Regions from separate parts of the Homo sapiens genome. Here region 2 is linked to region 1. The links are contacts of gene promoters, found by promoter capture Hi-C in human tissues and cell types (Jung and others, 2019). All regions are on one chromosome and are shown on one strand. Each heading gives the region's core, a stretch centred on a gene start or on the middle of the fragment in contact. The rest is flanking DNA. Distances are from core to core; before and after follow the strand shown. Region 1 holds the start of TMEM259 (transmembrane protein 259). Region 2 holds the start of OAZ1 (ornithine decarboxylase antizyme 1).

The links. The method cuts DNA at HindIII sites, captures the fragments that hold promoters and counts their contacts. A contact is called where the count stands out against the background at its distance.
Region 2: the fragment with the promoter of OAZ1 here is called in contact with the fragment with the promoter of TMEM259 in region 1 in 1 of the 25 tissues and cell types used here (hippocampus).

What each region holds. Positions count from the first base shown.
Region 1 is chr19:1,015,410-1,022,372 of GRCh38, forward strand. TMEM259 (transmembrane protein 259) reads right to left here and starts at 5,714. Exons shown (of 11, transcript NM_001033026.2): 1 at 5,363-5,714. The coding sequence starts at 5,587. It overlaps RNU6-2 (RNA, U6 small nuclear 2), which reads left to right and starts at 6,113; the gene lies at 6,113-6,219. RefSeq lists silencers at 2,998-3,217, 5,476-5,535, 5,566-5,635, 5,796-5,905 and an enhancer at 3,601-4,200. The HindIII fragment of the contact is 9,371 bases long and covers 4,815-6,963 here.
Region 2 is chr19:2,266,275-2,273,237 of GRCh38, forward strand. OAZ1 (ornithine decarboxylase antizyme 1) reads left to right here and starts at 3,212. Exons shown (of 5, transcript NM_004152.3): 1 at 3,212-3,470; 2 at 5,111-5,256; 3 at 5,508-5,680; 4 at 6,461-6,546; 5 at 6,698-6,963. The coding sequence starts at 3,325. The coding sequence ends at 6,834. LOC105372240 (a long non-coding RNA gene) reads right to left here and starts at 2,979. Exons shown (of 2, transcript XR_936242.3): 1 at 2,828-2,979; 2 at 2,219-2,598. RefSeq lists enhancers at 246-415, 2,911-3,525, 6,263-6,322, 6,333-6,392 and silencers at 2,779-3,268, 4,234-4,293, 4,504-4,703, 4,714-5,053, 6,593-6,742. The HindIII fragment of the contact is 6,913 bases long and covers 1-4,464 here.

The DNA of each region.
Region 1 (6,963 bases), core at 4,464-6,963:
GAGCCCACGCCCCAGCGTGCTGCAGGCACAACTCAGAGTGGGGCCCCTCTAGGGGCAGTTCAGGGCAGCCCCTCTTCCAGGGAGCCCGCCTCACCGTCTGGCGGTTTGGCTGCCCACTGTACCTCCCAACCTGAGGTCCAGGCATCACCCCCGAGCCTGGTGAGGGTCACGTCTACCTGCTGCCCCGATCCGCAAAACTGAGGACCCAGCTGGGCCAAGGGGGCGCCCACGGCCACATGGAACCCCAGACTCTCAGGGAAGAATTGATCAGACTCAAAATCACAAGCCAGAGAGCCTGGAGCACAGGGCCCCTCCGTGACCCGTGACCTGCTGGCAGGTGCACCAATGCCCGGGGTGCAGTGAGCCACCTGTGGCCGCACAGCCATAGGCAAGACCACCAGGAGCCTCAACTCTTCCACGCCCACAGTGAGCTGGGGCCTCCTCTCCAGAACCCTCTGTAGACTGAGCAAAGGGCCGAGTCAGCAAAGCAACCCACTTCCAGCCCGGCCGCAGTGCTGTGACCTGTGGGAGGCCCTGAGTCTGAGCACGGATAAAGCCCTGGGTCTAGCCGCACGTGCACCTGGGGCGAGCCCCATCACACTCCCCAGCCCCAGGAGCTGGAGAATCCCTTGGGCTGATCTGAACTGCATTTCTAGTCCTTACAGCCAAAAGAGCCGCAGGGGATGAAGGCTGGCCCGGCGCTGAGATTTAAGCAGAAACAGGCAAGAGCAGAACCCTGACCGCCAGGCATTCAGGCCCCGCCCACAGACGCCGGAGCTACAAATGAGGGGTGGGCGGGGGGAGGGGGCAGGGCCCTCTGCTGGGGAGGGTTCCCCTGTGTCCTGGGGAAGACAGGGAGGGCAGTGTGGAAGGGGGGCAGCCCCGGAGCCTGAGATGCTTTCAAAGCCTAGCGTTTCCCCATATGGCATCTGGGGACAGGAGCCACGGAGGCTGGGCCCAGTGGTGGGTCACGGTCAGAGACACTGACCCCACAGCCCCTCGGCTCAGCACTCTCAGGAGAGAGGGGCCCGCGAGGCCCATGGTGGATGCTGCTGGTGGCCACGCTCTGCCTTCCAGGCCCACACATCCAGCAGGAGCTGTGCCCAGGACAGCAATGGACCCTGTGCCAAGATGTTCCAAAAAGTGCTGATACACAGTGGGCCGAGGTCGGGGCTGTCCAACGCTTCACAAGGGACGCACGGCTGTTACCATCCCTGGTTTATATACGAGGAACTGACACAGAGGTCCCGACAGACCTGGACCTGCTGAGGTCACATGGCCAGGAGGGAGGGGCCAGGGCAGTGCCAGTCTGCACAATTAAGGCCCCACGGGGAAGAGCAGCTCCTGGGGTTGCCCTGGGCAGGGTCAGCTTGGTCCAGGGTCAGCGGGAGAGGGCACAGGACACACATCCTGCCACACCCAGCACTGGTGTGAGTGACCCGTCCCATGAAGACAGCGGACGTGATGAGAGGGCACCAGTGTTTTCACACAATGTGCACACACTCCAGTCAAAGACTTCAAGTCCACCAGACGCTATGACTCAGACGTCACTGTGTCTCTGCCCCATCAGGTGCTCCGTGCTGACCGAGCTCAGGGCCCCTCTTCCCTGACTGAGCATGACCAGAAAAATGCCCCACTGGACAAGGCCCGTTGCCGCCAAAGCCTCAGCTCCCCTTCAGTCTCCCACCACAAAACAAGGAGCAGGCACCACCCAGCCAGACGCAGGCTCATCCCGAGTCCCGGGTCCTCCTCCCCAAGACCTGTCTGTCATCAGCCACCCTGCAGCAGCCACCTCACCAGGCCCGGCCCTGAGCCACACGCCCAGGCAGCCTCGTCCACGCCCACAGTAACCCTCCCCAGGGAGCTCACCTGCAAATGCTCCCATGGGCCCCTGGCCACCCTCTGCCCGCAACCTGGCTCAGCCACTCGCATGCCCTGGGTGGTCCAGTCCCCTACACTCCATGACCCTGTCCCTGACCCAGGCTCCCCAGCAGGCACCCACATGCTCCAGCCCCACGGCCTTCCCACACGCTCTCCAGCTGCCTGGACACCCCACCCCATCCCACTGGCTGTGGCTCACCTCCAGGAGGCCCTGCCCACCCAGCACAGGAGTCACCCCACCCCTATGACCCTTCCTTCCTCCGGGTCAGCCCACACACGGCTGCACCCACAGGAGCACCTCCCCCAGCCTGGGGCCGTGCTCACCGCCTCCTCCAGGAAGCTTCCTGGATGTTCTGGCCGAGGCTCTCAGGGCACCCCAACACTCGGCCACTGGGTGGGCCTTTCCTTTCCTGTCTCCCCACAGACCTGGAGTGCCAGGAGCAGCCTGCCCGCTCTCTGGGTATTTGACTGACCCACAGACCGACGGACACACAAGCCCGCGGAGCCACACTCTCCTCCCAGGTGGGACACAGAGCCCTCAGCCCCAGCCAGGAAACACTACCTGGGGCTCCCCTTTGTCCACCCGGGGTGCTTCCTGCCTCCAGGCCACCGGGGCCTCTCCTTCCACTGCAGCCTCACAGTGGCCTCAATGTGACAGGTCCCCCATTCAGAGCAGGGCCCCTGGGGTCTCACATACCCCGTCTTTAATCGTCACGACCCCACAAGAGGAGCCCCATTACTCCCTGTGGCTAGGCGCGGGCCCCTGCCCATGTCCAGGGGTGCTGAGTCGAGACCCCTTCACCCTGTGGGCATCCACTTGGTGGTCACCTGGGTCCAGAGCCCAACCGCACAGGTGCAGGCACCCAGTGCCCCAAGATGGACAGTCTCTGCCACACTGGGCTCAGGGCCATGAAGGCCAGCAGAGGTGGATACTGAGGCTGGATGGAGGTCTCCCGAGGGCCCCTGGAACACAGGCCCCTGCCGCCTCCTCTCTCCCCAGCACCTGGCACTGCCTGGCATTTCCTAAAGCCACCCAGGCATGGATGAGGGACCGGGGGGCTCCATGCTGGCTCAGAGCTGGGAGATCCTGGCATTTCCTAAAGCCACCCAGGCATGGGTGAGAGCTGGGGGACTCCATGCCAGCTCAGGGCTGGGAGCTCAGCTGCACAGATGCCACAGGATGAAGCCACCTTGAAGGGATCATACCAGGGAGGACCTGGCTCTCTGCAGGGAGACCCCCGGAAGCCAGGCAGGCAGGAAGCAGAGGAGCCTTCTGGAACTCAAGGCAGCCTCTGAAATCAGGCAGTTCCAGCCTGCACTTTGCAGATAAGTAAAAGTGAAGGCAGCAGGGTCAGATTCTGTGCCACCAGATTACCGGGTGGAAAATTCACAAAGAACAGATTTCCCCACCCAGGCCAGGCATGGTGGCTCACGCCTGTAATCCCAGCCTTTTGGGAGGCCGAGGCGGGCAGATCACCTGAAATCAGCAGTTTGAGACCAGCCTAGCCAACATGGCAAAACCCAGTCTCTACTAAAAAGACAAAAAAATTAGCCGGTTGTGATGGTGGGCACCGGTAATCCTAGCTACTCCGCAGGCTGAGGCAGAAGAATTGCTTGAACCCAGGAGGTGGAGTTTGCAGTGAGCCGAGATCAAACCACTGCACTCCAGCCTGGGTGACAGAGCAAGACTCCATCTCAAAAAAAAAAAAAAAAAAATTCACCACCCAGAGATCTCACAGTCCAAAGCCCTCTGCTGAGAGAGGAGGGATTGGGGTTACTGAGAACCTCCCAAGAGTCTCCACCCTACACAGAAGACGGGGAACTCCAGCTCTGGCCCAGCCCCATCTGACCACCTGTGAGTGGTATTGGCCTGGAGATGGAGCCGGGTAGGCTTGATCCCTTTCCAAACCGGGACATGGTGGGACCAGGGCCCAGGCGACAGGGATGCACCTCCCAAGGAGGCTGAGCTCCGTCGGGGGAACCTGGCCTGGCACCCAGCACACACCCTCCACAAGCCTAAGGACACAGTGGCTCCATCCTGTTCCCAGGCTACTCCATGGAAGGAAAACCCACGTCCACAGACCAGCCTCCGTCCACAGTTTCAGGCCCCGTCTGTGGACCCCAGAGCCGGGAAAGGCCGCCTGCCTGCGTAACCCTTCACAGCCCTGCTCAGGTGCCTACTGAGGCGACCATGCCACTCTGGGGGGCTGCAGGGAGGAAGGTGGGAAGGATGATGGGCTGAGCTCTGGCCTGGGGAGGCACGGATCTGGAGGCTGGGGGGCCTTCCGTGAAGTGGCAGCAGGCTGGGACCCACACCCAGGTCCGCAGGACGGCCAAGGTCCAGCTCCACTTGCCGAGCCCAAAAAAGCAGCCAGCTCCTGACCAACCTGTGTCAGGCTGGGAACTTGCCCACGATCGCAGCCTGGCCCGCCAGCATCGGACCCCTCTTTGCAGGCTAGATCCAAAAAGCTCACGGCGCAACTTCAGCAGCCCCCAAGCCCCGGCGCGGCGGTGTTCTGATGCAGAACGAAAACGGCCACGTCCCCATTTCGCCAGGTGGCCCAGGACCCCGGCCAGCTTGTTTTCTGAGGGGCTGCAGCTGCTACTGAGCCCCTCTTGTCACCCAAGCAAGACTCCTTCTCAGAGGGAGTCAGGCCGATGCCTGTCCTGCACGGCTGAGACCTCTGCCATCTGAGGAGGGCGGGAGGGGGACAGAGCCCAAGACGCGGAGGCCGGTGCCTCATAGGGGAGGCACGGGCGACAGACCCACAACCTGAGCTCCTGAAGCAGGAAGGGAGTGGGGACCCAGCGGAGGAAGAGGCCGGGGATGGGGTGGTACGCTGCTGCCGGTGACTTTGCCGCTAACCCTAGCGAGGTGACCTCAGCTAAGTCACATTCCCCTGAGGCTCAGGAGCGGGGAACGCAGCTGAAAGGCTACAAGGAGGGAGAGAGGGGAGTGGGGAGTCGACTTCCAGGACAGGGGTTGGTCCGAGGGAGACCTGCGTCAGGCTGGGTTCTGGGCCAGCACATTGGGAGGGGAGAGAGGCCTCGGAACTGAGGGTCTCAGGCGGCACAGTCAGGGGTCAAAGGGCGGGAGGTGCTACCTCGCAGGCCAGGACCGGACTCCAAGCCTGGGTAGGTGGGGACCTGGGAAAGGCGGTCGCCGGGGACAGGATGGGCCCTGGAGGGAGCTGACAGTGAGGTTTCCAGAGTAGAGAACAGCGGCTTCTAGTGCAGCGGGATCCGGCCTTCCCGGGTGGACGTCCCCGGGCGGGATGGGGTCACGAGACGGTGTCCCTGGCCAATCCCAGGGTCAGAGGTCGCGAGGGAGAGCCCTAATCGGTAGGGCCGGGTATAGGCCTCAGGGTGCAGGGTGGCGCTCGCTGTCCCCAGCGGGGCCAGGGGTCGCGGTCGGAGGTAGCAGACTTGGGGGTCGGGACAGCCGCTGGGGTCAAGGGTCGGGGGTCGGGGCCGCGGTCACCTTGAGCAGCACGAAGAACTCGAAGAGACGGCGGAAGGCGGGCGGGAAGAGCCGCGAATAGGTGACAGCCATCTTGAAGAACAGCGCGTGGAAGAGCCGGTCGCGCACGTTGATGAGGGGGTTGGGGTTGAGATTGGGGGTGCGAGGCCCGCGCGCGGGGGCCGGGCCGCCGCCGCCGCCGTTGGGCCCGGGCCCCGGAGCTGCGGGCTCCACGTGCTCCGACATGCCTCCCAGCGTCGCGCCCTAACGACCCGCAAGTGTCCGAGGGCGCCTCCCGGCCGCCATCGGCCGCCCTCGCAGCCGCCGCTCTCCTCACGGCCTCCCGGCCGCCGCCGCCATCTTCCGCTTTCTCGTCCGGCTGCGGCGCTGCTGACGCTAGCGAGTCGCCACGCCGGGCAAGAGCGGCCCCCCTGCGCCCGCAGAGAACGCTGGGATGCCAGCGGCGCCCGCGGAGGCCTCACCCCCTACCTCGGCCGCTCCAGGGGGCGGGCCTGCATCTGGGCCACCTCTTTTGCATATTGGCACCCACAATCCACCGCGGCTATGAGGCCAGTATAAGGCGGTAAAATTACGATAAGATATGGGATTTTACGTGATCGAAGACATCAAAGTAAGCGTAAGCACGAAAGTTGTTCTGCAACATACCACTGTAGGAAATTATGCTAAATATGAAACCGACCATAAGTTATCCTAACCAAAAGATGATTTGATTGAAGGGCTTAAAATAGGTGTGACAGTAACCCTTGAGTCGTGCTCGCTTCGGCAGCACATATACTAAAATTGGAACGATACAGAGAAGATTAGCATGGCCCCTGCGCAAGGATGACACGCAAATTCGTGAAGCGTTCCATATTTTTGCTGTAGTCTACAGCTCGTCACCTCGTTTGGCTTCTCTTGCCCGGATCCTGCCATGACGTCACAGGGCCAGTAACGTCATAGTCTTCCCGTGTCCATCTCCTGTGGCGCCACTAAGGTTGGCGGTAGAACAATCTGGCAGTCTCTACTCCTGCGTGGCGCTGTGCCACCTGCCCCCGTAGCTTCGCGCAGCAATGAATAAATAAGTGCTCTTCAGGGGCACTTACTGAGTGCCGGCTGCGTACACAAGAGGATACTATGGTTTTTGGGTTTTTTGGTTGTTTGTTTGAGATGGATTCTCGCTCTGTCGCCCAGGCTGGAGCGCAGAAGCGCGATCTCGGCTCTCTGCAACCCCCGCCTCCCGGGTTCAAGCCATTCTCCTGCCTCAGCCTCCCAAGTAGCTGGGATTACAGGCATGCGCCACCACTCCAGGCTAATTTTATATTTTTAGTAGAGACGGTTTCTCCATGTTGGTCAGGCTGGTCTCGAACTCCTAACTTTAGGTGATTTGCCCGCCTAGGCCTCCCAAAGTGCTGGGATTACAGGTGTGACCCACCAAGCCCGCCAAAAAAAAGTTTTGTGTTGTTTTTTTTTTTTGAGACGCAGTCTCACTCTGTCGCCCAGGCTGGAGTGCAGTGGCGTGATCTCGGCTCACTGCAACCTCCGCCTCTTGGGTTCAAGCAATTCTCTGCCTCAGCCTCCTGAATAGCTGGGATTGCAGGCTTCCGCCACCACACCCGGCTATT
Region 2 (6,963 bases), core at 1,962-4,461, 1.2 Mb after region 1:
AAGGTTACGCCACTGCACTCCAGCCTGGGCTACAGGTGAGACTCTGTCTCAAAAAAAAAAAAAAAAAATCAGTCCATCAATCAATCAATCAGAGTCATACTCTCTGCGTCCTCTGCCAGCAGCCGTATCCCCTCAACCTTGATTTCAGAAGAAAACCCAGGCATGGGCCCTCTATCCTTGACCACCCCACATCCTCTGCTGTCCCTTTCAGACAGTTCAAGCCTCACCACCTCCAGAGAAAGATATGCCTCTTTCTCTCCCTGCTGTCCGGGAGGCCCCTCACCAGTCACAGACTCCCCAGCTCCCAGCAAAGCACCTCCCACCCTGGGGAGTTTCTGGGGAACCCGGCCAGGTGGGCCAGCAGGGCGCAGTTGCTGATCCTAGCGCTCATCCCACGTGGCCTGGCCAGTGTGGGGGTGGCCCTTCTAGAAGCCTCACAGCATTGGCAGGCGGCCATCAGAGGCAGGCAGGAGGAGGAAGTGAGAGCTGCTGCAGTCAGGATGGAGGGATGGGGCTCCCTGGTCGTGGCTGTTCTGGAAATCGCACCGGTGACCTGTTCATTTCGAGCAGGCTCTTGCCTCTGTTCCCAGAGGAGGTCCTCAACTTAGGGGCGTCATTCTGCCCCCAAGGGACATTGGATGATGTTTGGGACATTTCTGGTTGTCATGACTTGGAGTGCTCCTGGCATGGAGTGGGTGGAGGCCAGGGACGCTGCTCAGTACCCTGCAGTGCCCAGGACGCTGCAGTCCAGCCTGGCAACAGAGCGAGACTCCGTCTCAAAAAACAAAAAAACAAAAAAAAAAGCAATCCACACCCTGAGTGGGGAAGGAGAGAGGAGAAGCATCCCAGGAGCTGGGGCCCTCCTGGTTCATACCATTTGCCCAGGATGCCCCACCCCAGAGAACAATCCAAGCCCAATGTCCACGGGTCCGAGGGAGGAGACCCTGAGTTAATTATTTGAAACAGAGTCTGTTCTCTGCTCACACCAGACACCAGAATAAACTCCTTTTTTTTGAGATGGAGTCTCGCTCTGTAGCCCAGGCTGGAGTGTAGTGGTGCAATCTTGGCTCACTGCAACCTCCACCTCCCGGGTGCCAGTTCAAGCAATTCTCCTGCCTCAGCCCCCTGAGTAGCTGGGATTACAGGCACGCGCCACCATGCCCAGCTAATTTTTGTATTTTTAGTAGAGACGGGGTTTCACCATGTTGGCCAGACTGGTCTTGCACTCCTGACCTCGTGATCCACCCGCCTCGGCCTCCCAAAGTGCTGGGATTACAGGCGTGAGCCACCGTGCCCAGCCTCAGGATAAACTCCTAATGGGGCAAACGGTATAAACCAGGAGGCCCCCAGCTCCTGGGATGCTTCTCCTCTCTCCTTCCCCACTCAGGGTGTGGATTGCTTTTTTTTTGTTTTTTTTGTGACAGAGTCTCGCTCTGTCACCAGGCTGGAGTGCAGCGGCGCCATCTCAGCTCACTGCAACCTCTGCCTCAAGGTGTGGATTTCAACGTGCGCAGTCTCCTGGGACCTCAGCAGGGCAGAGGATCATGGGATGCAGAGTCTCTTGGGGGGGTCCGTGGAATCCCCTAACTCGGGAGTCTCACCCAGGGTGATTCTGCCCCCGCCAAGGGACACTGGGTGATGTCTGCGGATACTTGTGGTTGTCACAACTGGGGGTGCTCAAGGCATGGAGTGGGTGGAGGCCAGGGACGCTGCTCAGCGCCCTGCAGTGCCCAGGGCGGCCCCAAATGTCAACCGCAGGAGTTAATTTCTGCCTCAACACCTGAATAGCGAATGCTCGTAGCAGAGATGCAACAACAGCCTTCTGGTGCAGTACGAAATCTCGAAAGACAGGCAGGCGCGGTGGCTCACGCCTGTTAATCCCCAAACTTTGGGAGGTCGAGGCAGGCGGATCACCTGAGGTCAGGAGTTCCAGACCAGCCTTGCCAACATGGTGAAACCCCATCTCTACTAAAAATACAAAAATTAGCCGGGCGTGGTGGCGGGCACCTGTAATCCCAGCTCCTCAGGAGGCTGAAGCAGGAGAATCGCTTGAACCTGGGAGGCGGAGGTTGCAGCGAGCCGAGATTGCGCCACTGCACTCCAGCCTGGGTGACAGCCAGGCCCGGTCGCAAACAAAACAAAATTAAAACCATGAAAGGAATCAGGATTTGCCAGGAGTAGCATTTTTGCTTGGTAAGAACAAAATTTTGTTTATACATGAAATAAAAAATATTTTATTAAACCTCACTGCAAAGTGGCAACTTTTTGCTAAATTCATAATTTAGTCTACACACAAGCTATGTACCCGTATGTGACTGCCAAGAGTTATATCTTTGCTTATTAAAAGCAAAGTGCAGTTCATACCTGAGATTTTTTTTCTGGATTTAACCAGGAGGGGAAATATTTTTGCTAGGTAAGTCCACATTTTACCTCACAGGCGAAACAGTTTACCGAACTTGACCACCAAAGAAATCGTTTTTTCCTTGGGAGATCCACATTTTAGTTCATACATGAGATGTGTTTCTGAATTTTAACTGCCAGGAGTAGTGTTTTTCCTTAGGGTAAGTTTCAGTTTCCACAGGAAAAATCTGAATTTATCTGCAAGGAGTAAAATTTTTGCTTAAGTCCAAATTGTACACGAAATATTTTACTAAATTTGAATATCTTTAACATTGGAAGTTCTTTTTTTTTAAACACTGGAAGCATTTTAAGAACTGCAAGACCAAATTTAAAAAAATAAAACCAGTAATATCATCGATGATTACCAGGTGTTACTGGAAATAATTCTGGCGCGGTTGGACAACCCCCCAAGCACCCGGGGGCCTACCCAGGGGAGGGGTCCCGCTGCGTGAAGGGACCCTAGGGAGGGCGACGTGGACCACGACAGACAAACGGGCACTCGAAGACCCCCGAAAATCGGCCCCAGCGAGCCGCCCCCGCCCCCAAGGCACGATTGTGGGGGCGGGGACGGCTCGGGGCGCGCGCAGCGCGTACCCGGCGCCACGGCAGCCCCGCCCCCAGAAGGACGCGCGCAGGAGGGGGCGTGGCCCGAGGCTCACCAACCAATCTCCAGAGAGCCTCTTCCTTTCCCTTTCCCTTTCACCAATCAGGCGCTGGGAGGGGCGGGCGCGACTTTTTTTCCCGGCGGCCCCGCGGCTCTGCCCCTCGTGCGGTCGCGTTCCCGGCGGCGCGGGGGGCGTGGCCTGGGCGCAGCATCTATAAAGGCGGGCGGCGGCAGAGGCGCCATTTTGCGAACGGCGAGCAGCGGCGGCGGCGCGGAGAGACGCAGCGGAGGTTTTCCTGGTTTCGGACCCCAGCGGCCGGATGGTGAAATCCTCCCTGCAGCGGATCCTCAATAGCCACTGCTTCGCCAGAGAGAAGGAAGGGGATAAACCCAGCGCCACCATCCACGCCAGCCGCACCATGCCGCTCCTAAGCCTGCACAGCCGCGGCGGCAGCAGCAGTGAGAGGTAAGTGCCCCGCCCCCGTCCGAAGCTTCCAGAAGCGCCGGCCGCGCAGGCCTGCGGGGGGCCGTCCTCGGGGCGCCAGATAGGTCCCCGGCGCGCGAGATCCGCCCCTTTGTCAAGGCCAGAATCGCGCCGGGGACGAGGTAGGCGCAGGGCGGGCCTGGAGGTCCCCCCCGGCCTTAGCAGTGCTCTCGGGGGAGTCGGGTTTGGGGGGCAAGGGTGCGGAGTTGGATTTGGGGGGCACCGTCCGGGGCGCCTGATTTGCGGGAGGGGCATGGGTCGGAGGTCGGATTTGGGCGCAGGACGGGGAGTCGGGGGAGGCGTGTGTCTTTTGCGGGGTTCGCGGGATGGGACTCGGCTTCGGAGGAGGGGAGAGGCTTCTGGTCGAGGGTTGGATTTGCGGGGCGCAGACTGGGAATTCGGTTTGGAGGAAGGGTGTGCGGTCGGGTCGGATTTGGGAGGCGCAGGATGGGGCAATCTGGTTGGGGGCGGGGTCGGCCTTGGGGGGCTGGTCCGCGGACAGGCAGGGCCCGCGGGGCTGGTGAATCTGCACTTTTCGGTCCCGGCCGTCGAGCGTGCGCTGCGGGAGCGGGGAGCGCTTTGCGGTGGACGAGCTCCCGCGGGTCCCTGTTGCCTCGATGTGGCCCCTGCACGCGACGGACCTCGTGGGCCCCGTTTTTCGCCCCTGAGCGAGTCGGTCTGGATGGCCCGGGACGCGCCGGGCGAGGCCGCGCACGTAGACGGCACCCAGGGCTTCTCCGCGGGGGCCGCCGGGGAGCTGGGGGTGGCGCACTCCGACAGCCCGGCAGCGCCCTGGGAAGACCCCCGCCGCTTCCCGGGAAGACGCGTCCCGCTTCCGGGGGCGCGGGTGCCAGCTGCGGTTGTGGGGGAGCCCGCGGGGTCTCGGTCGAGCTTTCCCGACTGCGTCCCCCGAGGTGGGCGTCGCTCAGCCCCGGATCGGGAGGTTGGGCCGCGGTGCTGGCGGTGCCGCGGTTTGGGGGCCGTGCAAAATGGAGGCAACTTTGGGGCCTGTTTACCCTGCGCAGCAAATGGCTGCTGGCGCTGCCGGCTGCGCGATTGTGAAAATCTCCCCCGGGGCGCGAGGCCGCGTCTGCCTGGATGACGCAACCGGGAGGGCCCGGGCCTGGAGCGGGGGCGGGGGGGCGGGCGGCCGGGAGCCGGAGCGGGGCGCGTCCTCCATGAGGTCAGGCTAGGCCCGCCCGGTCTTCGCGGGGACAAGCAAGAGTCCCAGATTTTGGCCGTAGTGCAGGGTGGAAAGGGGAAGCCGCGACAGAACTGAAAAGGGGAAGCGCTGGCTGTCTTGGTGGCCGGGGGGTGAGGCTCTGCCCCGGCGGGGCTGCGTGAGGGGAAGGGGCCCCCCGCCCTGGGAAGGTTGGGCTGTCCTGGGCGGCGCCGCCCGAGGAGTCGGGGCTCAGTGACTGCTGCCCTTGTAGGTGCTTGGGGCAGGCGTTGGAGCTGCCTTCGGGAAGCCTCGGGGGTGTGGGACCGGGTGGGCCCCTGCCTGGGCGGGGCGGGGTCTTTTGGCCGAGGCAGGGGTGGGGATGTGCTGAAGGCCGCCCGGACGCCCTGGAGGGGTCTCCGCCCGGAGCCTGGCGCTGCCTCGTGACCTGCATCATCTTCAGTTCCAGGGTCTCCCTCCACTGCTGTAGTAACCCGGGTCCGGGGCCTCGGTGGTGCTCCTGATGCCCCTCACCCACCCCTGAAGATCCCAGGTGGGCGAGGGAATAGTCAGAGGGATCACAATCTTTCAGCTAACTTATTCTACTCCGTGAGTATGGGGCCGGGCCTGCTGGGGCTGCTCTGGGGCCACAGGTACTTTCTTGTGCACCTTGCTGCCCGTACCTGTGATTGAATGTAATCGTGGGAACCCTGAGTTTCATCAGAGCCGGCGCACAGTCTCCTGCAGCCCAGGCGTTGCCTGAGCTCAACACGGCCTAGGCCCAAGCTTTAGCGCTGCCGGGTTCTTGGAGTCCTGTGGGGTGAGTCAGGGTTCTGAATTGGGCTGCACCCCCTGGACAGGATGATCGGCTGAATGTAACAGAGGAACTAACGTCCAACGACAAGACGAGGATTCTCAACGTCCAGTCCAGGCTCACAGACGCCAAACGCATTAACTGGCGAACAGTGCTGAGTGGCGGCAGCCTCTACATCGAGATCCCGGGCGGCGCGCTGCCCGAGGGGAGCAAGGACAGGTGAGGGGCAAGGACAGGCAGGGAGTGCTCACCCAGGGGAGCAGGGACCAGGTGAGGGGCAAGGACAGGCGGGGAGTGCTCACCCAGGGGAGCAGGGACCAGGTGCGGGTTGCTGCCCAAGGGGTGCAGGGACAGATGAGGGAGGGCACTGCCTTCAGGCAGCACATATGGGGGCCACCATCGCTTTGTTGGTGGGGACAGGGTCCCCCCTTTTTTTTTTTTTTGAGATGGAGTCTTGCTTTTGTTGCCCAGGCTGGAGTGCAGTGGCATGATCTTGGCTCACTGCAACCTCTGCCTTCCGGGTTCAAGCGATTCTCCTGCCTCAGCCTCCCGAGTAGCTGGGCTTACAGGCGCCCGCCACCGATGCCCAGCTAATTTTTGTGTTTTTAGTAGAGACGAGGTTTCGCTATGTTGGCCAGGCTGGTCTTGAACTCCTGACCTCGTGATCCGCCCACCTCGGCCTCCCAAAGTGCTGGGATTACAGGCGTGAGCTACCGCTCCCGGCCTGGGGTCCCTTTTTAAAAAGTGCACTCCAAATTCGTACCCTGGGATTCTACCCTCCAAGGGATGCCAGGCAGTGTCAGAGCTTTTCTGTCATGGGGCATGCACGTGGGTGGGTGCAGCGGTGCTGCTCAACACTGTGGTGTCAGGACGGCCCCACCCAGAGGACGATCTGGGCCCCAGGGGGACCCTGGAGTAGAGCGGGCCTCAGGGTAGCTGCTAAGGCCCAGGAGGTAGGCAGGTGGGTCGGGCCAGCCGAGACGCTGACACTCGCTGCAGCTTTGCAGTTCTCCTGGAGTTCGCTGAGGAGCAGCTGCGAGCCGACCATGTCTTCATTTGCTTCCACAAGAACCGCGAGGACAGAGGTAGGTGACCCGTATCGCCTGCAGTAGGGTGCGTGGGGGTGCCTGCGCCGCCCCTTCATTCTCAGCCCGCAGGCACGGTCTCCCTGCGGGGGTGGGGGGTGCGGGCGGGGGGTTCTGGTCGGCAGGGGTTCTGACGGCTTCTCCCCCGCAGCCGCCTTGCTCCGAACCTTCAGCTTTTTGGGCTTTGAGATTGTGAGACCGGGGCATCCCCTTGTCCCCAAGAGACCCGACGCTTGCTTCATGGCCTACACGTTCGAGAGAGAGTCTTCGGGAGAGGAGGAGGAGTAGGGCCGCCTCGGGGCTGGGCATCCGGCCCCTGGGGCCACCCCTTGTCAGCCGGGTGGGTAGGAACCGTAGACTCGCTCATCTCGCCTGGGTTTGTCCGCATGTTGTAATCGTGCAAATAAACGCTCACTC